Linked DNA regions of Homo sapiens: region 1 is linked to region 2. Evidence: promoter capture Hi-C in 16 types of primary human blood cells and fetal thymus (Javierre and others, 2016). All regions are on one chromosome and are shown on one strand. The core of a region is centred on a gene start or on the middle of the fragment in contact, and the rest is flanking DNA. Distances in the headings are between cores, read along the strand shown.

Evidence for each region. The method cuts DNA at HindIII sites, captures the fragments that hold promoters and counts their contacts. A CHiCAGO score of 5 or more calls a contact.
Region 1: a fragment that was not itself captured here is called in contact with the fragment with the promoter of ATP1B3 in region 2 in 1 of 17 cell types (endothelial precursors); the score reaches 5.8 in endothelial precursors.

Annotation. Positions count from the first base shown.
Region 1 is chr3:141,766,347-141,772,530 of GRCh38, reverse strand. The region is part of intron 1 of GRK7 (G protein-coupled receptor kinase 7); the gene reads right to left. Among named protein-coding and RNA genes, the nearest start is that of GRK7, 6.0 kb to the right of the region's middle. The HindIII fragment of the contact is 5,990 bases long and covers 1-4,732 here.
Region 2 is chr3:141,871,717-141,878,626 of GRCh38, reverse strand. It overlaps ATP1B3 (ATPase Na+/K+ transporting subunit beta 3), which reads right to left and starts at 1,984. Exons shown (of 7, transcript NM_001679.4): 1 at 1,717-1,984. The coding sequence starts at 1,825. RefSeq lists silencers at 1,190-1,759, 2,030-2,159, 3,030-3,089. The HindIII fragment of the contact is 6,749 bases long and covers 235-6,910 here.

The DNA of each region.
Region 1 (6,184 bases), core at 488-2,987, 110 kb after region 2:
ATAGCATATCTATTTGAAGATCAAGAATTAGGAAGTAATATAGTGCAGTGCTATATGGTCTTAGAAACACAGAGAAGCTATTTTGAGCAGTGTAAGTTCTGAAGCAGACTAATACATTAGCATTAAAATACCCAAAAAGGCCGGACACAGTGGCTCACGCCTGTAATCCCAGCACTTTGGGAGGCTAAGGTGGGCGGATCATGAGGTCAGGAGTTTGAGACCAGCCTGGCCAATATGGTGAAACCTCATCTCTACTAAAAATACAAAAATTAGCCGCGCATGGTGGCGCATGCCTGTAATCCCAGATACTTGGGAGGCTGAGGCAGGAGAATTGCTTGAACCTGGGAGGTGGAGGTTGCAGTGAGCTGAGATAGTCCCACTGCACTCTACCCTGGGTGACAGCAAGATTCTGTCTCAGGAAAAATAAATTAATTAATTAAATAAAATAAAACAAAATACCCAAAGAACCCAGGTTGTTCTTTAGCTTCAAGTTGTTGATTGTTCAACAACTTTTGTTGTTGTTGTTGTTTAAAAATAGATTTACGGGTTGGGTGCAGTGGCTCACACCTGTAATCCCAGCACTTTTGGGAGGCTGAGACGGGTGGATCACCTGAGGTCAGGAGTTTGAGACCAGCCTGACCAATATGGTGAAACCCTGTGTCTACTAAAAATACAAAAATTAGCCGGGCATGGTGGTGGGTGCCTGTAATCCCAGCTACTTGGGAGGCTGAGACAGAAGAATTGCTTGAACCCAGGAGGCAGAGGTTACAGTGAGCCTAGATTGCGCCACTGCTCTCCAGCCTGGGTGACAAAGCAACACTCAGTCTCAAAAAAAAAATAGATTTGGGAGGTACAAGCACAGTTTTGTTATATGGCTATATTACATAATGATGAAGTCTAGGCGTTTAGTGTAGCCATCACTTGAATAATGTACATTGTACACATTAAGTAATTTGTTATCCCTTACCCCTGCTCCCACCTTCTTACCCTCCCATCCTTCCCAGACTTTAGTGTTTATTATTCTACTCTCTAAGTAATTTCTTATCCCTTACCCCTGCTCCCACCTTCTTACCCTCCCATCCTTCCTAGACTTTAGTGTTTATTATTCTACTCTCTAAGTACATATGTACACATTATTTAGTTACTGATTATTGAGAGAGTACATGCTGTATTTGACTTTCTCTTTCTGAGATGTTTCACTTAGATAATAATGGCCTCCAGTTCCATCCACATTGATGAAAAAGACATGATTCCATTCTTTTTTATGGCTGAGTAGTATTCCATGTATGGATATGTGTACACACACACACACACACGTGCACACACACATACATTTTCTTTACCCAGTCACCCATTGGTGAATACTTAGGTTGATTCCATATCTTTGCTATTGTGAATAGTGCTGTGATAAACATATGTGTGCAGTTATCTTTTTAATATAATGATTTCCTTTGAGGAGATACCCAATAGTGGGATTGCTGGACCAAATGGCAGTTCTCCATACTGGTTTTGACTTTTTTTTTTTTTTTTTTTTTTGAGACTGGGTATCACTCAGTCACCCAGGCCGGAGTGCAGTGGTGTGATCACGGCTTAGTGCAGCCAGCCTTGACCCCTTTGGTTTCAAGTGATCCTCCCACCTCAGCCTCCCAAAGTGCTGAGATTACAGGTGTGAGCACCATGCCTGGTCTCCATACTGTTTTCCATATAGTTTGTACTAATTTACATTCTCCTCAAAAGTGTATAAGCATTCCCTTTCTCAACATCCTCACCAACGTTTGTTGTTTTTTGACTTTTTAACAGTAGCTGTTCTGACTGGTGTGAGGTGGTATCTCATTCTGTAATCTGCATTTCTCTGATCATTAGTGGTGATGAGTATTTTTTATATGCTTGTTGGCCATTTATATGTCTTCTTTTGGCAACGTCTGATTTGAATCCTTCCACAGCAAAGGTGTCTTTTTTTTTTTTCTTTTTTCTTTCAGTAAAAGCCCTCTACTGGAAAGTATAGCAAAAGGGTCTTTACCCTCCCAGCAACAGCTGGCCCCACTTTTAATAATTTGAAGTAATCAAAAATACCTTGTTGGCCAGGTGTAGTGGCTCACTAGGTGGCTCCTAGTTGAAATCTAGCACTTACTTTTTTTCTGGTCTGTTTCCTTCATGTACAGTCATAGTTTAGATTAGGTAAACACTAAGGTAACACACATTTTATAAACTCTGTGATTATTGGATAATTGGAGTTAATAGGAAAGTGAGTGGTTTTCAACTGATATTTCCTGAAAGCTGGAAAATGAATTGTTCCCTCCTCTATGTGCCCCTTGGATTTGATACCTACCTCTAGAACAGCCTTTAACCACGCTGTAATTCCAGCACTTTGGGAGGCCAAGGCAGGCAGATCACTTGAGATCAGCCTGGCCAACGTGGTGAAACCCCGTCTTTACTAAAAATACAAAAATTAGCTGGGCATGGTAGCGGGCGGTTGTAATCCCAGCTACTTGGGAGGCTGAGGCAGGAGAATGGCTTGAACCCAGGAGGCAGAGGTTGCAGTGGGCCGAGATTGCGCCACTGCACTCCAGCCTGGGCGACAGGGCAAGGCTCTGTCTCAAAACAAACAAACAAACAAACAAAACCTTGTTGGTTTTTCAAAAATACTTTGTGATAATTCATTATGGCAGCCACAGGAGAGTAATACAGGGGCTGTCTGGTAGGAGCTGGGACTGCAGGAGAGGCTGTCACGTGGGAGCTGAAAGATCGGAGATGCAGCCACTCCCAGAGGTCACACACGAGGCCGAGTGAGATGGGGAGAGATGCCCTGGTGTCTTTCCTCATTAGCAGAGCCTGGCCAGAAGCCAGAGGGCAAGGGAGGCTGGGAAATGTCACTTGCAGAGCTTGCATGGGGTGAGTCCCTGCAGATACAGATCAGAGAAGGCCAAAGTCAGAGAAAGTGTCTGAGAACAAACAGGATGATGACCAACTCCTGTACCATTATCAGTTAAGCCATCCTTTTAAGGATTTGACCTCTCTCTTAGGAACAATGGGAGACCACTAGAGTGTTTAGCCATACGATGTGGATATATTTGTGTTTCAAAGACACCGCTGGCTGCTGCTTTATGAATAGAGTGGGTGCAGAAAGCCCAGATGAGAGGTTACTGCAGCAGCCTAGTGAGTCATGATGCTGGCTGTCAAGATGGAACAAAGCAGAAGGAATCTTAAGCTATTCAGAAGGCAAAATAGTCAGGAGTTGATGATTATGGAGGGTGAGGTAGAAGGAGATGAAGGGGTGAATCCAGGCTTAGGAGAGCTGGAGGATGGTTATGTCATTCACCAAGACAGGGAAAACCTGGAAGAAGGTGTTCAGTTTGGAACATGCAGAATTTGGGGTGCCTGGGAGATGTCCCAGTGGTGATGTTAGGTGGGCAGTGGGATAGAAGGGTCTGGAGTTCAGAGGAGAGGTCTGGAGGGAAAGGCATGTTTGGGAGTCATAGGGGAGTAGGTGATAATTGATGTAGGCATTGAAGAACCCACCTGGGGAGAGAGAAGGGAGTGAGACTGGAAGATGGACAAGGACTGAGCCTTGAGGTCATTCAACATTTATCATTCAGAGGATGAGCCTGTAAGGGAGGCTGAGAAGGAATGAGAAGGGAAGCTGGAGAGAAGCAGGAAAGTGTGGTGCCGCAAAAGCCAAGTAGAGAGTGGCCAACTGCATCGAATGCTGCTGAGAGGCTGAGATGATGAGGAGAAAGAAAGGAGGATGGATGGAAACCACTGGCTCCTGGAGTAGGACTCTCAGCCTGACTGGAGAGGATTGAGGAGGGAAGGAAGGTGGAGAAGTGAAGGTTGCAGCCACAGAACTTTGGCCATGAAAAGGGAGAGACATATGATGGGGAGCTGGAGGGGTTGCGAGAGATGGGAGAAAAAATTAATGGTAGTGTCTTGTGCTTGTTAAAAGCTAACAAGGACCAGGGGCGGTGGCTCATGCCTGTAATCCTAGCATTTTGGGAGGCCAAGGCGGGTGGATCACCTGAGGTCAGGAGTTCGAGACCAGCCCGGCCAACATGGTGAAACCCCATCTCTACTAAAAATACAAAAAAATTAGCCAGGTGTGGTGGTGGGTGCCTGTAATCCCAGCTACCTGGGAGGCTGAGGCTGGAGAATCACTGGAACCCGGGAGGCGGAGGCTGAGGCGGAGTCTGCAGTGAGCCAAGATTGCACCACTGCACTCCTGGGGAAGAGAGCGAGACTCCGTCTCAAAAAAAAAAAAAAAAGGCTGACAGGAAGGATCCAGGTTAGAGGGCGAGGTTAAAATATAAGGGGAAGGATTGGCCTTAGGACGAAGGGCAGCTCTCCAGACAGCACAGGAGTGTGGGTCTGTTGCAAGGGGTCTATGTGTGGTGGCCCCATTTACCATGATAACCGTGACACAGTGTGGTTAGAGGCCGCTCCACAGGTAGGCACCAAATCCAAGGGGAACATAGAGGAATGAACAATTCATTTTCTAACTTTCAGGAAATGTCAGTTGAAAACCACTCACTTTCCTATTAACTCCAATTATCCAATAATCACAGAGTTAAATAGAATGCATGTTATCATAGTGTGTACCTAGTCTAAGCTCTTCCTGTACATGAAGAAAACAGACCAGAAAAAACTTAAATGCTGGGTTTAGACTAGGAACTTAGGGTCTCATAGTCCATTCCAGGGTACTTTTCACTTAGCATTGTCCCTGTGGCATAGAGAAGCTTGGGGGTAAAAGAATCTAGTGTGACACACAAAGGAGAAAGCTGAGATATTTACAAATGATTCTTGTCCTCTGTTTCCCTTTAAAATAGCAGACTTTTCTGCTGGGCATGGTGGCTCACGCCTGTAATCCCAGTACTTTGGGAGGCCAAGGTGGATGGATCGCCTGAGGTCAGGAGTTTGAGACTAGTCTGGGCAACACAGCAAAACCCCGTCTCTACTAAAAATACAAAAAAAATCTGGGCATGGTGGCACATGCCTATAGTCCCAGCTAATCAGGAGGCTGAGGTAGGAGGATTGGTTGAGCTGGGGGCTGGAGGCTGGAGTGAGCTGAGATCACGCTACTGCACTCCAGCCTGGGTGACAGTGCGAAGGAGACCCTGTCTCAAAAAAAAAAAACAAAAAACAAAACACAAAACCAACAGATTTTTAGTTATAAGGCTTGCATGGTATCATAGTATAAAACCAAGCATTCAGTTCAGCTCTGTTCCAATTGATAATGAAACAATCATTGTGTATCTGAAAGAGAAATCTTTTTATCAACAGGAAGCCTGACCTTCCTTACATGTCATACCAAGAATAGATGGTGAAAATTTTTGCTTTTGAGGCTACTTAAGATAGGAGAAGTTGCACATGCTTTCATAGGGGTGAAAGAATCTGTATGCTTGCTTAAAACTCCTCATTTCTATAATAAATTAAGTCCATAAATATTGAATCTTAGGCTATAATCTGGCATAACATAAACATCTTCCTCTCTAAACAAGACTCTAATTGTTTTAATAATGACTGCATTCTCATAACAGAGGATATTCTTCTTAAACAAGGAGTCACAGTAGCTAAGAGAGAAAATGAAGTAATTGGTATATCTGAAGGAAATAGAAAATACTTCCTGATAGAGATTCCATTTGGAAATGAATTATGGCAGATATGCAAATGAACTGTATGTGTTCACACAATAAGATTTTAAAAATCTGCTAAGCAACTCTCTGGAAAGTACGAGATTTTATTAGAAGACATAGATTATTAGAGAAGACCAAACAATACAATGTTAGCAAACAAAAAGCAAAAGAAATTCCACAAAACATAGATTTGATATGTGGCGAATATGTGGGAATTATTTGAAAAAAAGTGTTACGGTTATAATAATGAATGAAACAAGGGCATAAAAGTCAAAGTTATTTTTAGTAGGACATAAAAGACTTTGTATTCTGGAATGAAGAAGTAGTAAGTATTTATTAGAAATTTCGGTGAGTCTGCTTTAAAGACTTTTTTTTTTCACATTTGGTGGCGAATAAAAGTAATCGAGAGTGGAGAGAATAAGGAAGTTATAAGAAAAAACTGGCTAGGTGCGTTGGCTCACGCCTGTAATCCCAACACTTTGGGAGGCCGAGGCGGGTGGATCACGAGGTCAGGAGATCGAGACCATCCTGGCTAACACGGTGAAACCCTATCTCTA
Region 2 (6,910 bases), core at 735-3,234:
GACTCAATAAAATAAAATCTCTACCCTAGGTCATACAATACAAAGGTTGAAGAGCACTATCTGCAGTAAGAAATGTCATTCTAACACAAAGTGGAGTTACTCCGTTCTGGAAATGAGGAAGCACTGGGGAAGGGAGAAAGGGAGGAAGGTAGCCTATCAAAATTAATCTCTCTCCACCACTCAAAAATTTCTTCAGCAAAAAGTTAGTACACTCTAGAAACAAGCAATTAAGCTTTATAAATGTTCATCTTTTGTTCCCATGTAAGTCTGGATGCAAGATTTATTTCTTCATCACACTAGTGGGTTCCCAAAAGAAAACAGCAATTTAAATAAAAATCATGAGTGATTACCATGCAGTTAGGCAAGGCATCTGTAAAATAATACAACCGCTGGACTAGGATTAAAGGAGAACTGGGTTCTTTTCTTGGCTTTGTGGCATATGTAATTTTACACAAGGCAAAAATCACAACCTCTCTGGGTCTCATTTTTCTCATCTCTAAAGTGGGGGTTGGGCTAAAAATCCTCCAAGGCCCCTTTCAGCTTGTGATAAGACTTCAAGTCGCCTTTTCACCCTGAAGGAGTCCATTTCAGTCTGCACCAACAGTTTATTTTCTGAGTCACAGCTTATTTCTCCATGCTTATCCTAAAAATGTTGTGCCCAAATAGTTCTAAGCTCTCGAGATTTATTCCCACTCAGAAAGAAATGGTCTTTCAAGACCCACTAACAAAATGTTTCAAAAGGATTTAAAAAGGTAAAATTAGTTTACTTAAGTATAAAGGCAAAAAAAAAAAAAAGCTCTAGCCTGCATTCAGAGATTGATACAATTTTAGGAAAAAAAGGCATCCTAAAGCTACTCTACACGGTAGATGGTTTAAATATATTAAAACAAAGAGCTCACGCATAGAAAAAATCTGCTAACATACAACCATCACTCTCCTGTTTTGAAGACACGGGAAAAAAAAAAAAAACCTGTGTTGTTCAGACAGGATTTACTTTCCCCAAAGAAGCAAATTTGTAAGGAAGAAAACCTCTGTAATTAAAAAGGAATCCGGGAGGAACCAACCTTTTTAAGGGCCTTTTCACTGTCCAAATTCAAGTGCATTTTCTTGTACAATGTACTTCTGTGATTAACTCACCGCTACACGTTTAAGCAACCCACACCCACACTTAACACTCAGTCGCACTCTTCCGACCGGTCGGGGTGGCAGCGTGGACGAGTCACAAGATAGCGGCGGGAGTGGAAATTTCCTCTCCCCTGGAGTGGGGCAGGGTCTGGCTTCTCCGAACCGCTCAGCGGGCCGGGCGCCTCCGCCAGGGCCTCTCGGGCCGGAGCGCTCCGTACAAAGGAGGCCCGGGGGCTCGGCTCCTGCACTCTCGGGGCCCGGCTTCGGGCAGGGGTCCCCGGCTTCCGGCGCCGCGCCGGGCGGGAGGCCCGGGCAGCACGTGCGCCCCGCTCCCAGCAGGGAGGGAGGAACCAGCGCGGCCCGGCCGGGCTGCCCGCGGGCCCCGCTGCTTCGGGAGCGAGCTGCGGCCAGTCCGGCCGGCCCGGGGAGCAATGAATGGGGCCGCACTGCGCCGCCGCCGCCCGGGTTAGGGTCGGGCGGTCGGGAGCCCCGGCGCTGGGAGCCGCCTCCCGCCTTTCCGTTCCCACCAGACCGCGCCCGGCGCCCCCGGGACCGAGGCCGGCCCCGGACGCCCAGCTGCTGCCCGCTCACCCCAGCTCTTGGCGGTGCGCCCCAGGAATTCTCCGGTGGTCGGGTTGTAGATGAAGAGCTTCCACTCGGCCAGGCTCTGGTTGAGGGACTTCTTCTCGTTCTTCGTCATGGTGTGCGCGCGGACGGCGAGAGGAGCTGCGGCCGCGGGGATGGAGGCGGCGAGGGCTGCGGAGGCGCGTCCCGGCTCCGGCGGCGCAGCCCGGAGACGGCAGTGAAGGGTGGGACGGCCGAGAACACCTCCTCGTTACGGGGAGTACTCGAGCCGACTGCGCCGCGCCGCGCCGGGCGGCCGCTTGGGCCGCGGGAGCCTGACGTCTCCGCCCGCCGCAGCCAATCCCCGCGCCGCTCGGCCCGCGCCGCTGCCGCCTCCCGCCAGCGGCCGGGGCGCTGCCTGAGGCGGCGAGGGCGCCCCACCCCGCCCCGGCCCCGCCCCGCAGTAGCCTCGGGGGCTCCCTCAGCCTGGGTCAGAGGAAGCGAGAAGAAAGTCTAAAAATCCGAAGGTTTAGTCGCACGCACGTTTATAATAATAGCAAAAGGCGGGCGTCCCCGCGCCGCAGGTTGCTTAGGAGGAGGACTGGGTTTCCTGGGCGTTCCTGGGCGCCGGGGCGCTGAGAAGATGCTACCCGCGGCGGGCGGGTGCGGAGAGCACGAAAACGACTCCAGTCGGCCCGCGGCTTCCTCTCTGAGGGAACTTAATCGTCCCCTCCCCGAACTGCCTCCCCGACCGTCCCCAGGCGTTCTCTGGGCTCTGTGACGTTCCTACAGGACGCTCTCTGGGCTCTGTGACGTTCCTACAGGACGCTCTCTGGGCTCTGTGACGTTCCTACAGGACGCTCTCTGGGCTCTGTGACGTTCCTACAGGACGCTCTGCGGGGGATCGCGCGGGGCTCCCACAATGTACACGGTGCACTGCTGTTCTGAGAACGTCCTCGCTTGGCTCCCTTGAAGGGTTCAACCGGGAGCCTCGGGTCAATGGGAATTCCGTTCTAAATATGCCAGTGAATGGAGTATAATTTTTCTCGGGATTCAGTTGAATTTATCAATGAAATCTAAATACGTGCTTTCCCAAGGGTCCTGGCAACTGAAAGCTCCCAGCTTTTGCCCAGACGCTCCTACTCTTAACCCACAGGAAAGGAACACTCGTTGGAGGGTCCACGCCTGTGTAGTGTCGCCGGCTTTTCATCTCCCCTGTAGAGATCGCGGCCCTTGGGCGGAGCTGAGGGTGCCGGTAGCGTTTTCCTCCGCGAGATGGAGCTGACGAGTACGGGAGGGGGGGTGCCCTCAGACTCAGCGACAGGATAAAAGACTTTATAGGAATTTGCACAGAAGGTGCGGGGTGGGGGAGGTTGTTGTTGTTGTTGTTTATTTATTTATTTTTAGAAAAAAGCTCTGCCTCCGTTTTATTAGCAAATAAAAATTATGGAGAAATGTAATAGCCATCTTATTGTTTGGAGTGATGAATTATAATCTGTCTGGAAGTTTAAACAGCCTGCAAATGGATGAATTTTCCTTTTTCCTCACTTTTCTTACCAAAGCAAGAAATAATGAATTATACCTCCCACAAATGGAAAAGTGGTAAAATATATTCCTATAAAGTGCTTTTTTCACGCTTAAAAAAGCTAAATTTATAATTATGACATTGAAAATAACCAAAATCCATTTACGTTTTGAGCTAATGACACCAAAAGATTTGTAGAAGCATGTTGGAGAGTTTGGCATGAAATGAGTATTAGAAATAGCAAAGCACCATGCAAGCAGACTGGAATGCACTTCTTTAAATCATAGGCAAGATTGAAAGAACTAAAGAATGTTACCTGCCGGGCGCGGTGGCTCACGCCTATAATCCCAGCACTTTGGGAGGCCGAGGCAGGCGGATCAGGAGGTCAGGATCGAGACCATCCTGGCTAACGCGGTGAAACCCCGTCTCTACTAAAAATACAAAAAAATTAGCCGGGCGTGGTAGCGGGCGCCTGTAGTCCCGGCTGCTCGGGAGGCTGAGGCAGGAGAATGGGGTGAACCCAGGAAGCGGAGCTTGCAGTGAGCCGAGATCCCGCCACTGTACTCCAGCCTGGGCGACAGAGCAAGACTCCGTCTCAAAAAAAAAAAAAAAAAAAAAAAAAAAAAAAAAAAAGAATGGAAGTAGTTAACTATTTTCAACTCATTACAAATATAACTACAGGTTAGAGGAAACCTAAAATACTGGTAGAGTTGATAACAGGCTTTTTCATTTAGGTAAGAAAGAAAGATATTTAGAATGAAACAAAACCTGTCCGCTTCATTTACATTGTGTGTGTGCATGTATGTGTGTGTGCGCTAATAATAAGCGTGCTTTGATAACTAATCACCTGGCACACAAAGAAAACGTGGTAAACAAGAATATTATGAAATAGTGTTTCAAAGATATTGGCTGCTGTCAAGGATTTGTAGTTTGTGTATGTGTGTGTGTATATATATATATATATATATATATATTTTTTTTTTTTTTTTTTTTTTTTTTTTTTTTTGAGATGGAGTCTTGCTCTTGTCGCCCAGGTTGGAGTACAGTGGCTCGGATCTTGGCTCACTGCAACCTCTGCCTCCCGGGTTCAAGCAATTCTCCTGCTTCACCCTTCCAAGTAGCTGGGATTACAGACGCACGCCACCACGCCCAGCTAATTTTTTTATTTTTCAGTAGAGATGGGGTTTCACCATGTTGGCCAGGCTGGTCTCGAACTCCTGACCTCAGGTGATCCGCCCGCCTCAGCCTTCCAAAGTGATGGGATTACAGGCATGAGCCACCACGCCCAGCCTGTTAGTTTGTATATGTTTAATGGTCATTAATATGACTTTCATATTTAGTGCTTTGTGGTTTTCCAAATAAGGATTTAAATACAAATATATAATTCAGTAAGCAGTTTTGAAACACATGACTAGTTCAGTATAGTAACTAGGTCCAACAGATTTCAGTTTGGTGAAATTTTTACATTCTACTCCAAAACATGGAAGCTATTTGTTTCTCTGATATATGGTAACTTGAGCATTACCTGGAAGAGAAAATCCTGTGTGTACTGGGAACCACTGGTCTACCAAGTATGAGCAGATAACATTTAATTACAGTTACATTCTCTGTCAGTTTATTTTACTCTAAGTTTCTCCTTTGAAGGAGAAGTTACTTCGCTAGAGAAAATACAGAATGCCTACCTAAATTTAAGTCCAGATGGATGATGGATTTTTTTTGGTATACATTCCATGCAATATCTGGGACATAGCTACTCCCCCAAAATTATTCTTGTCTGTCTGAAATTCAAATTTAACTAGAAATCTTGTTTTTGTTTTTGTTTTTTTGGAGACGGAATTTGATCTTGTCGTCCAGGCTAGAGTGCAATGGCGCAATCTCGGCTCACTGCAACCCCTGCCTCCTGGGTTCAAGCGATTCTCCTGCCTCAGCCTCCCAAGTAGCTGGGATTACAAGCATGTGCCACCTCACCTGGCTAATTTTTGTGTTATTAGTAGAGACAAGGTTTCACCATGTTGTCCAGGCTGGTCTCGAACTCCTGACCTTAGGTGATCCACCCGCCTCGGCCTCCCAAAGTGCTGGGATTACAGACATGAGCCACTGCACCCAGCCTATCTTGTATTTTTATTTGCTAAATCTGACAGCCCTACCTGTAGAGGATACTTAGGAATTCCACAGTAATAATAATGATCTCTTATAAATAATTAAGTAAGTCCCAGGCCCTGTACTACTTGCGTAGTGTGATTTATTTCTCAGTCTTTACAAATACCCTAATGGGGAGGTACTGTTTCCCTAATTTTGTAAATGAGGGAATTACATTTACAAAATCGTAATTAAGTTTGTAATTAATTCTCTAATTACAGTTACTGAAATTAGAGAAATTAACTCATCCATGGTTAAGAAGCTAGCTAATGACAGCACCTGGATTCAAATACCCACCTCTCCTCCACCACCCAATACCATTAATACCTCTACAGTAGGCCGGGCGAGGTGGCTCAAGCCTGTAATTACAGCACTTTGGGAGGCCGAGGAGGGCGGATCACGAGGTCAGGAGTTCAAGACCAGCCTGGCCAACATGATGAAACCCCGTCTCCACTAAAAATACAAAAATTAGCTGGGCACAGTGGCGGGCGCCTGTAATCCCAGCTACTCGGGAGTTTGAGGCAGGAGAATTGCCTGAACCACGAGGTGGAGGTTGCAGTGAGCCTAGATCATGCCACTGCACTCCAGCCTGGGTGATAGAGCAAGACTCTGTCTCAAAAAAAAGGCAGAATGTTGAGTTACTGAAGCTGGGTGTGTGAAAAAAAAGAAGAAACTTTTTTTTTGAGACAGGGTCTTGCCCTGTTTCCCAGGCTGGAGTGCAGTGGTGCAATCATAGCTCACTGTAGCCTCCACCTCCTGTACTCAAGTGATCCTCCTCCCTCAGCCTCCTGAGTAGCTAGGACTACAGGCATGCCACCACACCTGACTTATTATTATTAATATTATTATCATTATTTGAGATGGAGTCTCGCCTTGTTGTCCAGGCTGGAGAGCAGTGGTGCAATCTCGGCTCCCCACAACCTCCACCTCCCAGGTTCAATTGGTCAATTGATTCTCCTGCTGCAGCCTCCTGAGTAGCTGGGACTACAAGTGCGTGCCACCATGCCCAGCTAATTTTTGTATTTTTAGTAGAGACAGGGTTTCACTCTATTGGCCAGGCTGGTCTCGAACTCCTTCGAACTCCTGACCTCATGGTCCACCCACCTTGGCCTCCCAAAGTGCTAGGATTACAGGCGTGAGCCACCGGGCCCGGCTACATCTGGCTAATTTTTATTTTATTTTTGTAGAGATGGGAATCTCACTATGTTGCCCAGGCTGGTCTTGAACTTCTGGCTTCACTTCAAGCGATAGTTTTGAGTTGACCTCCCTAAATATGGAATTACAGATGTGAGCCACTGTGCCTGGCCAAAAAGAAGTTTTTTATGTGAGGAAGACTAGCCCCTTTAAATTATCAGGCCCAGAGAGGCATTGAAATTAAACACATGGAATGAAACTCTTCCTTGAACTAAATCATTATCTCTTGAAGCCACTTCATTTCTGTAAACCAATGCATTCCTGATGAACAACTTTTGCAATTGTCCCTTTCTCCTGATTCATCCTTTTTTCTTTAAAAACTTGAGCCTCTCCTTTGTTCCCTGAAGCACTCGCCAAGACAAC